Regions from separate parts of the Homo sapiens genome. Here all the other regions are linked to region 1. Evidence: promoter capture Hi-C in human tissues and cell types (Jung and others, 2019). All regions are on one chromosome and are shown on one strand. The core of a region is centred on a gene start or on the middle of the fragment in contact, and the rest is flanking DNA. Distances in the headings are between cores, read along the strand shown. Region 1 holds the start of PAFAH1B2 (platelet activating factor acetylhydrolase 1b catalytic subunit 2). Region 2 overlaps CEP164 (centrosomal protein 164). Region 3 overlaps BACE1 (beta-secretase 1).

Evidence for each region. Contacts are between HindIII fragments. The study calls those that stand out against the background at their distance.
Region 2: a fragment that was not itself captured here is called in contact with the fragment with the promoter of PAFAH1B2 in region 1 in 1 of the 25 tissues and cell types used here (bladder).
Region 3: a fragment that was not itself captured here is called in contact with the fragment with the promoter of PAFAH1B2 in region 1 in 3 of the 25 tissues and cell types used here (aorta, dorsolateral prefrontal cortex and pancreas).

What each region holds. Positions count from the first base shown.
Region 1 is chr11:117,142,334-117,146,357 of GRCh38, reverse strand. It overlaps PAFAH1B2 (platelet activating factor acetylhydrolase 1b catalytic subunit 2), which reads right to left and starts at 2,071. Exons shown (of 6, transcript NM_002572.4): 1 at 1,940-2,071. RefSeq lists an enhancer at 812-991 and a silencer at 1,542-1,861. The HindIII fragment of the contact is 6,098 bases long and covers 1-3,992 here.
Region 2 is chr11:117,328,674-117,332,697 of GRCh38, reverse strand. The region is part of intron 1 of CEP164 (centrosomal protein 164); the gene reads right to left. Among named protein-coding and RNA genes, the nearest start is that of CEP164, 2.8 kb to the right of the region's middle. The HindIII fragment of the contact is 5,196 bases long and covers 1-4,024 here.
Region 3 is chr11:117,307,442-117,311,465 of GRCh38, reverse strand. All of the region lies in intron 1 of BACE1 (beta-secretase 1), which reads left to right. Among named protein-coding and RNA genes, the nearest start is that of BACE1, 6.8 kb to the left of the region's middle. The HindIII fragment of the contact is 6,827 bases long and covers 1-4,024 here.

The DNA of each region.
Region 1 (4,024 bases), core at 822-3,321:
ACTTTGGGAGGCCGAGGCGGGTGGATCACTTGAGGTCGGGAGTTCAAGACCTGCCTGGCCAACGTGGCGAAACCCCGTCTCTACTAAAAAAAAAAAATACAAAATTAGCTGGGTGTGGTGGCACATGCCTATAAGCTTGAACCGGGAGGCAGAGGTTGTAGTGAGTAGAGATCGCGCCACTGCACTCCAGCCTGGGCGACAGACTGAGACTCCGTCACACACACAAAAAAAAAAAAAAAAAAAGAAAGAAAGACCAAGCAGAATGCAAATAAAAGGTCTGAAGAACAAGTTTTGTTAATTTGCCACAACAGACTGTACTCCAGGGGAAGCTTTGTTGTCCATTAAAGTGAGTTCTCTGGGAAGACGAGGAGTAACCGACTTGCACGATTTTCCTGCCTTTTCTATATTCTCTACTTACTATGACAATACAGCACTAGAATTTCCAAGTGCTTATACCAGCATAGTGCAATGTATTTAATGAGAAACCACGTCCAACAACAAAGCGTTATAACTTCTCCAGCTGAGTTAGATGTTTTAGTCTGAACCAGGAAAACAGATGAAGAAAGTTGAACCAAGAATTAAAAGATTTAGAGTTTCCACTCAGACCTAAGACTCTCCACTTTGTTTCAGAGGGAGTGGGTATGGTTATTCTGAAGAAGAAGGCGGCCCTTATCCTGAATGCCCGGTAGCCTCCGTGGGCTGGTGGGTGGTTCCTCCGGTCCAGCACCTCCATAATTTATGATCAAATGCCCAAGCCAACAAACTAATCCTCCCCTTCTCCCCCACAAGGAGGCAACCTTTATGTCAGAACAATGTGCCCAGAAGAAGCCAAAGACACAAGGCACATCCAAGGCAAAGACAATCTTAATTAAGCACTTTCTCCTTCCACTTTCTCCACACCTTTACCCCCGGCCCAACCCCTTCCCATAATTTCAAGCTGTACAAAATGAGGTCCTAGGGTGGATCCGGGTGGTCTTTCCTTTCTCTACGGGTAAGCTCTACAAAGAGGCGAAAGCTCCGAGTGTTAGTTCTTGTTTGTGTATAAATTCTGAAAAGCAACGCTGGCCTGCGAGCTATGAAAAGCAGAAGCATGAGTCACCACGCAACGGGTCAATCAAACCTGTAGACCAGAAGGCACGGATCTGGCAAACGGACGGTGAGCCAGGAAAAAAACATCCCCCCAAACCTCTCCGCTGACAGGTTTATCTAGCTGGCTGACCTTGGGCAGGTCACCAGCCGCTCCGAGCACATTCATGTCTAAGATGAGATGGGGGCTGGAAAGCCTTCCAAGAAATAATCCCTTCCGAGTGGTGACGGTCTATGCAACTTTTGAATAAACACATCCTAAGAGGCAACGGAGAAGTTTCTAAAGAGTTGAAATTTTTCAACAAAAGGAGGAGGGAAAAGTGCTCGGTAAAAACACAACGGAGTAACTGGTTTTGGCCTCCGACCAGACGCGAGGGGAGAGAAGAGTGAGAAGTTAGACCCCTGTGATAAAGGGAAAAGGCAGCAGCGGAGACCCGGGCAGGAGCTGCAGCGCCCAGCCGGGGCGAGCTGGGGTGCGCAAGGCCTACCGCGGGTGGGCCCGGCAGGGCAGGGCAGGGCAGGGCGGGGCGGGGCGCCCGCCGCGCTACCCTCCTGGGAAAGGCCGTGGAGGCGCCGGCCGGCGGCTGAGGAGAAACGCCAGCTTTCGGTATGGAATATCGGGAAAGGGCTCTCAGAGCGAAAACTAGCTGCGCCGGCTGCTGGGAAGCCGACGCTGGGCCCGCAGAGAAGGCGCGCGCTCGCGAGGCCCCCCCCAAGTGGATGGGGCGGCGTGGGGGGAGGGGCCGCAAGGGTGGGGGAGGGGAGGTCGCGGGCCTCTCACAATAACACCTCGCAGCCCCTTCCGACCCCCGCCTCTAAGCCACCGGTTCCCTGCGACCCTGGATGCACTCACTGAAGTAGAGGGTCCGTGCGGGCCCCAAGCGGCTGAGGCGTCGGCGGGTGGCGCGTCGGTCGCTCGCTCGGTCCCGTCGGTCCCGCTCCGGCGCGTCCCTCCTCCGGCCCCAGCACCAGCAGCAGCTCCTCCACTTCCGGTTCCCCTGCCACTCAGCCAAATGGCTTCCGGAAGTCCCGCCCCCATCCTGCCACGCCTCAGCGTGGTTCCTCTCTCCCCGCCTTCGCTCTCCCGGGCGCTGGCGGCGTGCGCCCAGGTGTCCCGCCACACCCCGTTGGGTACCCTGCTTTGTTCTCGCGGTTACCCCCATTTTGTGTGGCGTCTGAGGGACATGGGCTTCTCTCTTTACTCCAGCTGCATCTCTCAATCCTGCGTTCGTGCCACCGCAGTGTGGAGCTGGCATTCGGGACGATGTGGCGTGAAGTCACACTGACGCCATTCCCTTCACACTCAGCCAACTTGGCTTCCTCTTCCACCCATGGAATAAACCAGACTGCTGAAAGTGGGAGGGAAATAGCGGACCAAGGTTAAGGAGGCAGTACCTGACATTTATTAGTGGAATTTCTGTTTCTATGATGAATGTGGAGATTTTGGGTGACCGCCTGTAAAGGTGATACATAGGGGGATGACGAACCCCAGGCTTTTCCTTAAAAGATACATCCAGTTTAGGGGAAGACATACATATACAAAGTCAATATTGAAAAGATTATATGCTAAATAAATGCAGGATCTATAAAAGTAGAGAGGAGGGGCAAGAGATGTGCTCAAGCTTATAGCAGCGCAACGGTTGCTGGAGCAGTGCCCTGAACTGGCCCTTTAAGGATCTCAGCTCTATGCTGGTGAATAGGCAGAGCCTTCCAGGGCTCTTAAACTGATGCGGGGGTGGGGGTTGATTTTGCTGACAAAACCTGTTAAGAATACTGTAAAATCCTGGGAGCCTAAAATGTCAAGATATGTCAAGTAATTTTTCTTTTTTTTTTTTTTTTTTATTCAAGTTCTAGGGTACATGTGCACAACGTGCAGGTTTGTTACATAGGTATACGTGTGCCATGTTGGTTTGCTGCACCCATCAACTCGTCATTTACATTCCGTATTTCTCCTAATGCTATCCCTCCCCCAGCCCCGCAGTCCCCGACAGGCCCCCGTGTGTGATGTTCCCCGCCCTTTGTCCAAGTGTTCTCAGTGTTCAATTCCCACCTATGAGAACATGCGGTGTTTGGTTTTCTGTCCTTGTGATAGTTTGCTGAGAATGATGGTTTCCAGTTTCGTCCATGTCCCTGCAAAGGATATGAACTCATCCTTTTTACAGCTGCATAGTATTTCGTGGTGTATATGTGCCACATTTTCTTAATCCAGTCTATCATTGATGGACATTTGGGTTGGTTCCAAGTCTTTGCTATTGTGAATAGTGCCACAATAAACATACGTGTGCATGTATCTTTATAGCAGCATGATTTATAATCCTTTGGGTATATACCCAGTAATGGGATGGCTGGGTCAAATGGTATTTCTAGTTCTAGATCCTTGAGGAATCGCCACACTGTCTTTCACAATGGTTGAATTAATTTACACTCCCTCCAACAGTGTAAAAGTGTTCCTCTTTCTCCACATCCTCTCCAGCATCTGTTGTTTCCTGACTTTTTAATGATCGCCATTCTAACTGGCATGAGATGGTATCTCATTGTGGTTTTGATTTGCATTTCTCTGATGACCAGTGATGATGAGCATTTTTTCATGTGTCTGTTGGTTGCATAAATGTCTTCTTTTGAGAAGTGTCTGTTCATATCCTTTGCCCACTTTTTGATGGGGTTGTTTGTTTTTTTTCTTGTAAATTTGTTTAAGTTCTTTGTAGATTCTGGATATTAGCCCTTTGTCAGATGGGTAGATTGCAAAAATTTTCTCCCATTCTGTAGGTTGCCTGTTCGCTCTGATGGTAGTTTCTTTTGCCATGCAGAAGCTCTTTAGTTTAATTATATCCCATTTGTCTATTCTGGCTTTTGTTGCCATTGCTTGTGGTGTTTTAGTCAGGAAGTCTTTGCCCATGCCTATGTCCTGAATGGTATTGCCTATGTTTTCTTCTAGGGT
Region 2 (4,024 bases), core at 491-2,990, 190 kb before region 1:
CCCAGCCAATTTTATCCTCTCCTGTCAACCCAGAACCACCTTAGCACTGAGCTCATAATTTTCATGTGTTCCCAGACAGATTTCTCTCAATATTATTATTTTTTCTTTCTTTCTTTTTGAGACAGAGGAGTTTCGCTCTTGTTGCCCAGGCTGGAGTGCAATGGTGCGATCTCGGCTCACTGCAACCTCCGCCTCCTGGGTTCAAGCGATTCTCCTGCCTCAGCCTCCTGAGTAGCTGGGATTACAGGTATGTGCCACCACGCCTGGCTAATTCTGTATTTTTTTAGTGGAGATGCAGTTTCTCCATGTTGGTCAGGCTGGTCTCGACCTCCTATCCTCAGGTGATCCACCCGCCTCGGCCTCCCAAAGTGCTGGGATTACAGGCGTGAGCCACCGTGCCTGGCCAATATTACTTTTTTTATGAAAATGTGTCTTCTTACCTCTCCTGTTAAACCACAAACTTCTGAGGGCCATGTCTCCTCCTCTGGAATTTTCCAACAAAGCCTAAAATAAGCCTATGTAAGCTGTCGGAGCTCAGTTACTGCTGTAACTGCTAATATAAAACCAAGGAATAGGCCGGGTGTTGTGGCTCACACCGGTAATCCCAATACTATGGGGGACCAAGGCCTAGGATCACTTGAGCCTAGAAGCTCAAGACCAGCCTGAGCAATATAGTAAGACCCTGTCTCCACAAATATATATATATATATATATATTAGCCAGGCATGGTGGCGTGCACCTGTGGTCCCAGCTACTCGGAAGGCTGAGGCAGGAGCTATGTGATCAGATGGAAAGGAAGACAGAGTTACATAAAGAGTGTAAAGTGGGGAGGCAGAGGTGGGAGGATCACTTGAGACCAGGAGTTCGAGGCTGCAGTGAGCTATGATTGTACCACCATACTCCAGCCTGGGCAACAGAGTGAGACCCTATCTGAAAAAAAAAAAAAATACACCAGCAATCTCAGAAGCTAGGAAGACCCGCAGTAGTTTTGGTCCACCTTCCTTCCCATGCCAAAATTTTCCTCTCTGTGCTTCCAGTGACAGGCGGCATAGTGGTCAAAGTACCAGCTTTGGAGACAGAAGACCTGGATTCAAATCCCAGCTCTCTCACTTAGCAGCTGTATGACCTTAGGCAAGGTGCTTCACCTCTCTCAGCCTCAATAACTGCATGTGTATAATTAAAACAATCTTAACAAAAATCAAAAAGCCTGAAAGTAAAATGAAACAACACTTATAAAGTGCCTAGCACAGTCCCTGTATACAGAAAAGTTACACAAATTTAGCTAGTATTACAGATTCTATTTTCAATTCCATAGTTAGATAATTCTTAACTATTAGAAGGTCTAATAGTAAGCCAATAATCAGGTTCTAAAAAAATGTTCCCTGGTATCTCAAGTCTGCCTTCTGCTCATCTGGGGACACCCTAGGATTCTCTAGCTAAGGTAGGCTAAGTATTCCCAGTTCTCTTCCATTCAGTACATATCGTTTCCCAGTCCTTCAATATTGTGGCTACCTTGCCCTGTACTTTGTCAGCATAGCTAGAGTTTTGCACATCTGCACACTAACAGAGAATATACACTCACAGACATAATGAGGGTTCTCTGTATATTTATTTCTTCCACCCTGCTCCAACAATTACAAAGAAGGTTGACCACAGAAAAGATTGACTGGAGAAGGTAAAGGGGAGAAGGTGGAAGATGTCAGAGTTGATTACGCAGTGGTAATGAGCAAAAGCTTTGGAACATTCTTGGCTTTCAATCCCAGCTCTGCCTCTTACTAGCTGGACAGCCTCAGTTTTCTCATCTATAAAATGAGAGTACTAACAATATCCATCACAATGTGTTGTGAGGCTTATATGATTCAATACATGTAAAGTGCTTAAAATATACTAAGGTCTCAATAAATGTTAGACATTACATTATTATGACTGCTATTCACCTATTTAAAAGGGTTTATTCTACCTTGCTCCAAAGGACATATCCAGCACCAGGCAATATAAGTTAAGGCCATTCAGACATTAAGTAATCACTTTTTCTTTGCTTTTTTTTTGAGACAGAGTATCATTCTTGTCACCCAGGCTGGGGTGCAATGGCACGATCTCTGCTCACTGCAGCCTCTGCCTCCCAGGTTCAAATGATGCTCCTGCCTCAGCCTCACGAGTAGCTAGGATTACAGGCGCCTGCCACCACGCCCGGCTAATTTTTGTATTTTTAGTAGAGATGGGGTTTCACCATGTTGGCCAAGTCTCGAACTCCTGACCTCAGGTGATCCGCCCGCCTTGGCCTCCCAAAGTGCTGAGATTACAGGCGTGAGTCACCGCGCCAAGTAATCACTTACTGAACACCCACCATGGGCCAGACATTGTGCGACGTGTTAGGGCTACAAACCTGATTACACATGGCCCTGAACTTGAGCTCAGCCTACCTGGAAAGCCAAACACGTAAACACATGACTACAAAATGTGTTACATGAATTAAAGGAAGTAACATAATATATAACAGAACACAAAGGTAAGGGCAAATAATCTTAGGAAGATCAGGGAAAGCCTCACAGAGGACAATTGAGATAGTTCTTGAAGGATAAGCAGGTGATCCCCAGGATAAGCGGAGTAAGGGAATTCACGGCAGAGGAACAACATGCACAAAGGCAAAAAAGAAGAAAATCATAAGGTGGGTGCAAAGAATTAATTATGACAACAAAAGCTTATAGCCACTGAACACTTCCTATGTTACAGGAACTGTACTGAGTGCTCTATATACATCATCTCACTTCATCCACTCAGCAAAATAGAATTATCTTCACTTTTCAAATAAGGAAACTGAGGCTTAGCAAAGTTAAAAAAAAAAAAAAAAAAAAAAAGGCCAGGCGCAGTGGCTCACGCCTGTAATCCCAGCACTTTGGGAGGCGGAGGTGGGCGGATAATGAGGTCAGGAGATCCTGACCAGCCTGGCCAACATGGTGAAACCCCGTCTCTACCAAAATACAAAAAATTAGCCAGGAGTTGTGGTGCCCACCTGTAGTCCCAGCTACTCGGGAAGCTGAGGCAGGAGAATCGCTTGAACCCAGGAGACTGAGACTGCAGTGAGCCAAGATCGCACCACTGCACTCCAGCCTGGGCGACAGAGCAAGACTCTATTTCAAAACAAACAAACAAACAAACAAACTTGCCCAAGGTGTCACAGCTAATAAACGGTAGAGCAGAATATGTAAGTATCCATGTCTGACTCCAAAGCCCAAACTCTTAACCATTCTGACATGACCAGAGTGCAAGGGACAGTGGGAGGAGTGGCAAGACAGAGCTCTAGAATGAAAGGCAAGAGCATATTATAAAGGGCCTGGAAGAACAGAGGCTCTATCCTGTAAATGATGAGGGGCCATCACAGGATTTCACAAAGGAGACTGGCATGACCAGATCTGTAGGTCAGATAGACGATTCTAGCCAAGAATAGTGGTGCATGCCTGTAGTCCCGTCTACTAAGGAGACTGAGGTGGGAGGATGGCTTGAGGGCAAGAGTTCGAGGCTGCAGTGTACTAGGGTCACACCGGTGAATACCAACTGCACTCCAGCCTGGGCAACATACCAAGACCCTGTCTCTAAAATAAATAAATGATTCTGACAGCTGCATAAGAACTAATTACAGGAGGACAAGAACTGAGGCAGAGAGACCACTTAGGAAGTTATCCTGAAAGCACAAGCAAGAAATTATGAACTAAGTCAGTGTCTGTGAGGATGGAAAGGAAGCGCCAGATTCTAGGGGAATTAAGAGGCAGAATACAGGACTTGAACTTCGGGAGAGAGGAGGGAAATCAGAGCACTAAAGCCAGAACACTGTGACTATCATTTCTAGATGTGTTCATTTCTATGCCTCGTCCAATAGGCAGCCCCACCTACTACACTGCCTAGAAGACAGGGCATGTCCGACAAATGTTTGCTGTATTTATTAGATGAATAAATTAAAGGGACAGACTTGGCTGAGTGAATGGTGAAGCCCTTCATTGAGATAAAAAAATACAAGAGGAGAAAC
Region 3 (4,024 bases), core at 560-3,059, 170 kb before region 1:
GAAAGGAAGAGGGCATCAAAGATGGTTTTGAGATTCTGATCTGGGGTGAACTGGAGGATAACAAGACTGTGGGAATAGGAAAGGTGGCAGGAGGGGATGGCTTATAGTACTTGTATACAAATTTATTTGCTTGTTTATTAATTACAGGGTCTCTCTCTGTTGCCCAGGCTGGAGTACAGGGGCACAATCGTAACTCCTGGGCTCAAGTGATCCTCCTGCCTCAGGCTCCTGAGTAACTTGGATTACAGGCACATGCCACCAGCCCCAGCTGATTTTTTCAAATTGTCTCACTATGTTGCCCAGGCTGGTCTCCAACTTCTGGGCTCAAGTGATACTTCCACCTTAGCCTCCTATTAGTTTTTCCCTTACAGCAATTCCTGCAATATATAAAAGGTCTTTACTTCAGTGAGCTGTGATTGCACCACTGCAATCTCCAGCTTGTCAGAGGATGACAGAGACCCTGTCTCCAAAAAAGAAAAAAAAAAAAAAAGGTCTTTATCACTCACAGTGTCTAGCAGAAGAAATGGGGTTGAAAGGTTAAACCACTGGCCAGGTAGAAGGCCAGTAAGTTAAGACCTGTTTCATCCTTGTTCTTCCTACTGTGCCATTTGTCTTGGGGAAGAAGAAGTTATCACAAGCATCCCTCTTCCATTCTCCCATTACACCTGCTTATATCTCCATTACTACACTTGTAATGTATTACAACTGTTTTTGTGTTTGTTTCTCTCATAAAACTTCAAGCTCTGGCCAGGCGCAGTGGCTCACGCCTGTAATCCCAGCACTTTGGGAGGCTGAGGCAGGAGGATCATCTGAGGCCAGGAGTTCAAGACCAGCCTGACCAATATGGTGAAACCCTGTCTCTACTAAAAATACAAAAATTAGCCAGGCGTGGTGGCAGGCGCTTGTAATCCCAGCTGCTCGGGAGGCTGAGACAGGAGAATTGCTTGAACCCAGGAGGCAGAGGTTGCAGTGAGCTGAGATTGCACCACTGCACTCCAGAGCGAGACTCTGTCTCAAACAAACAAAACTTCAAGCTCTTAAGGACAATGTCTTTTTAATTTTATTTATTTATTTTGCAGTATCCTCTCTTTGTGTTATAATAATCTATAACAATACCAAGCTCAGAACATACACCTAAAAAACATTGAGTGAATGAATACATAAGCTGCAAGCCTCTAAACAGAACTGTTGACAGGCAGTTGTAAATGCAGAACTGTAGCTCTTAGAGAAAGTATTTTTATTCTTTTAAACGAAAGGGCCAGGTTCAGCAGCTCACGCCTGTAATCCCAGCACTCAGGTGAGGCCGAGGCGGGTGGATCACCTGAGGCTGGGAATTGGAGACCAGCCTGCCCAACATGGTGAAACCCCATCTCTACTAAAAATTCAAAAATTAGCCAGGTGTGGTGCTGCATGCCTGTAAACCCAGCTACTCAGGAGGCTGAGGCAGGAGAATCGCTTGAGCCCGTGAGGTGGAGGTTGCAGTGAGCCGAGATTGCGCCACTGCACTCCAGCCTGGGTGACAGAGTGAGACCCTGTCTCTAAATAAATAATAAATAAATAAAAGGATGTTATCTCATTTTGATATTATGAGCATCACTGACCAAACATAGGATAATAAGGTAACTGTTAGGAGTGAAATTTGGTGATAGTCAATTCAGTTTAACAGATATTTGTTGAGTACTTGCCTACTGTGTGTAGAAGAGAAAAATAATGCCATAGTCTTAGCCCTTGGACAGCTCACAATCTGATGTGAGACATAGACATAATACCTAAATATTACACAAAACCAAATGCATTTGGTACAAATAGTGAAACAGTGGATCTTGGAAGTGCACAGAGAGAAGCAGCTACTTCTGACATGGTATTAGGCACAGCTTGCTGGAAAAGGAGGGTTTTGTTTTGTTTTTGTTTTTGAGAGGGAGTCTCGCCCAGGGATCCACCCGCCTCAGCCTCCCAAAGTGCTGGGATTATAGGCGTGAGCCACCGCGCCCAGCCAAAACGGAGGTATTTGAAAGAGGAGAAAGCTTTGCAATATGGAGAGTGGTGAGGAGGAGCACTTCATGAAGAAAAGCGTGAACTGTGGTGAGAAGCCAGAAGGCATGGTGGGGATGCCATGGGGCTGACAGGACTTTGGGTTTTATTCTGCAAACAGTAAGGAATCCTTGTAGGTATACGAGAAGAGGGATGATATCGTCTAATTTTAGTTCCAGGAAAACAGCTTCAGTGTGCAGAATAACTTGGAGAGTCTAGCATCATGACTCTAGACATGCAAACAAGGATCTCAGGATACGGGGGCCTGAAAGAGGATGGTGGCAGTGAGGGTAGAAAGGAGGAATCAGCATTCATCCATCGTTTAACCAGTTATTCTCTGCGCTTGATGAGATGTATGGGGTGAGAGAGAGGGAAGAGGAGATGATGGCTTTATTTAACCTCTCTGACTTTTTGTCAGGGAACAAAGCAACAGGGGAAAGCTTTTGAAGCACAATATAGTTTTTTTGTTTGTTTGTTTGTTTTGAGATGGAGTTTCGCTGTGTCACCCAGGCTGGAGTGCAGTGGCGCGATCTCAGCTCACTGCAACCTCCACCTCCTGGTTCAAGTGATTCTCCTGCCTCAGCTTCTCAAGTAGCTGGGATTACAGGTGCCCGCCACCACCCCCAGCTATTTTTTTTGGTATTTTTAGTAGAGATGGGGGTTTCACCATGTTGGCCAGGCTGGTTTCAAACTCCTGACCTCAAGTGACCGCCCGCCTCAGCCTCCCAAAGTCTTAGGATTACAGGTATGAGCCACCGCACCCAGCCAGGAAGTACAATATAGTTTACCAAAGTTTATGTTTATTATTCTGCTTTAATTATAAGGGATAGGTATTAGCATATCTATTTCAGGGATAAGGAAACTGAGACCCAGAGAGACTAAGTGTCTTGTCCAAAGTGATTCTGTTAAGAAGAACAGAGTAGGGGTTCAAATACCGGGGCCTTTCCTTCCTGTGTTCTACGATCTGGGACATGCCTTTGAGATGCTAGTGGGTCATCCTCGTGGAAGTATTCAGCCACCAGCTGACAGTGGGAATCTGGAGAGAAGTTAGAACTGGACAGGCAGACAGGACTCATCCACAGAGAGGCCAAGTTAAAAAATAGACTTGTTCTTTGAGGGAACAGAGAGGGAAAGGAGAAAAATGATTAGGAAAAGAATATTAGGTATAGACAAGGGAGCAAGAGAAAATGATCAGAGCAGTAGAAAACTATGAGGGCTCAGAGTCTCAGAAACCAAGAAGGACCAGGTGGTTTTTCTTTTTTTCCTCTCCTTCCCTGCTTGGCAGGGTTCTGTAAAGGGACCTCAGCGGTGAGGGAGAAGGCTGGGAGCAGTCAACACTCTAGATCCCCGCCCTTCCTGTCACCAAGCCATCCCCATCCCCCCGCCCCAAATCTCCTGAGCATCCCAGGATAACTTTGCTTTTATTGTTTTTATACAGTGGACTTCTGGGTTATATTTTTTTAAAAAAGAGTTTTTGCAATAAAAAGGTTGAAAACCATCGAGCTCAAAGAACCACCCTCCAAATTAGACAAAGCCAGCAAGACCCCGGCTCCATAAGTTGCCTACCCAGTCCCTGCCACCACAACTGGCTTTCCTGGATTGGGCCTCGGGTTGCACACAAGCCCTTGCTGGAGCACTCATCCTGTCATTCCAAACCTCTCCTCTACTCCCCAGACCAGTAAAGAAGAGTTTAGCTGGGAGTGAGGGGGCATTGAGAAAGACTGTGCTCTCTCTAAAAGCACTAAGGTGGAAGGTCAGGAACCCTTCTTGGGCCTCTCCAATAAAGGGCTGGGCAGAAAATTCCAGTTGAAAATCCAGAAAGAGGCCAGGCACAGTGGCTCACACCTGTAATCCCAGCACTTTGGGAGGCCGAGGCAGGCAGATCACCTGAGGTCAGGAGTTCAAGACCAGCATGGCCAACGTGGTGAAACCCTGTCTCTACCAAAAATACAAAAATTAGCTGGGCATGGTGGCACGTGCCTGTAATCCCAGC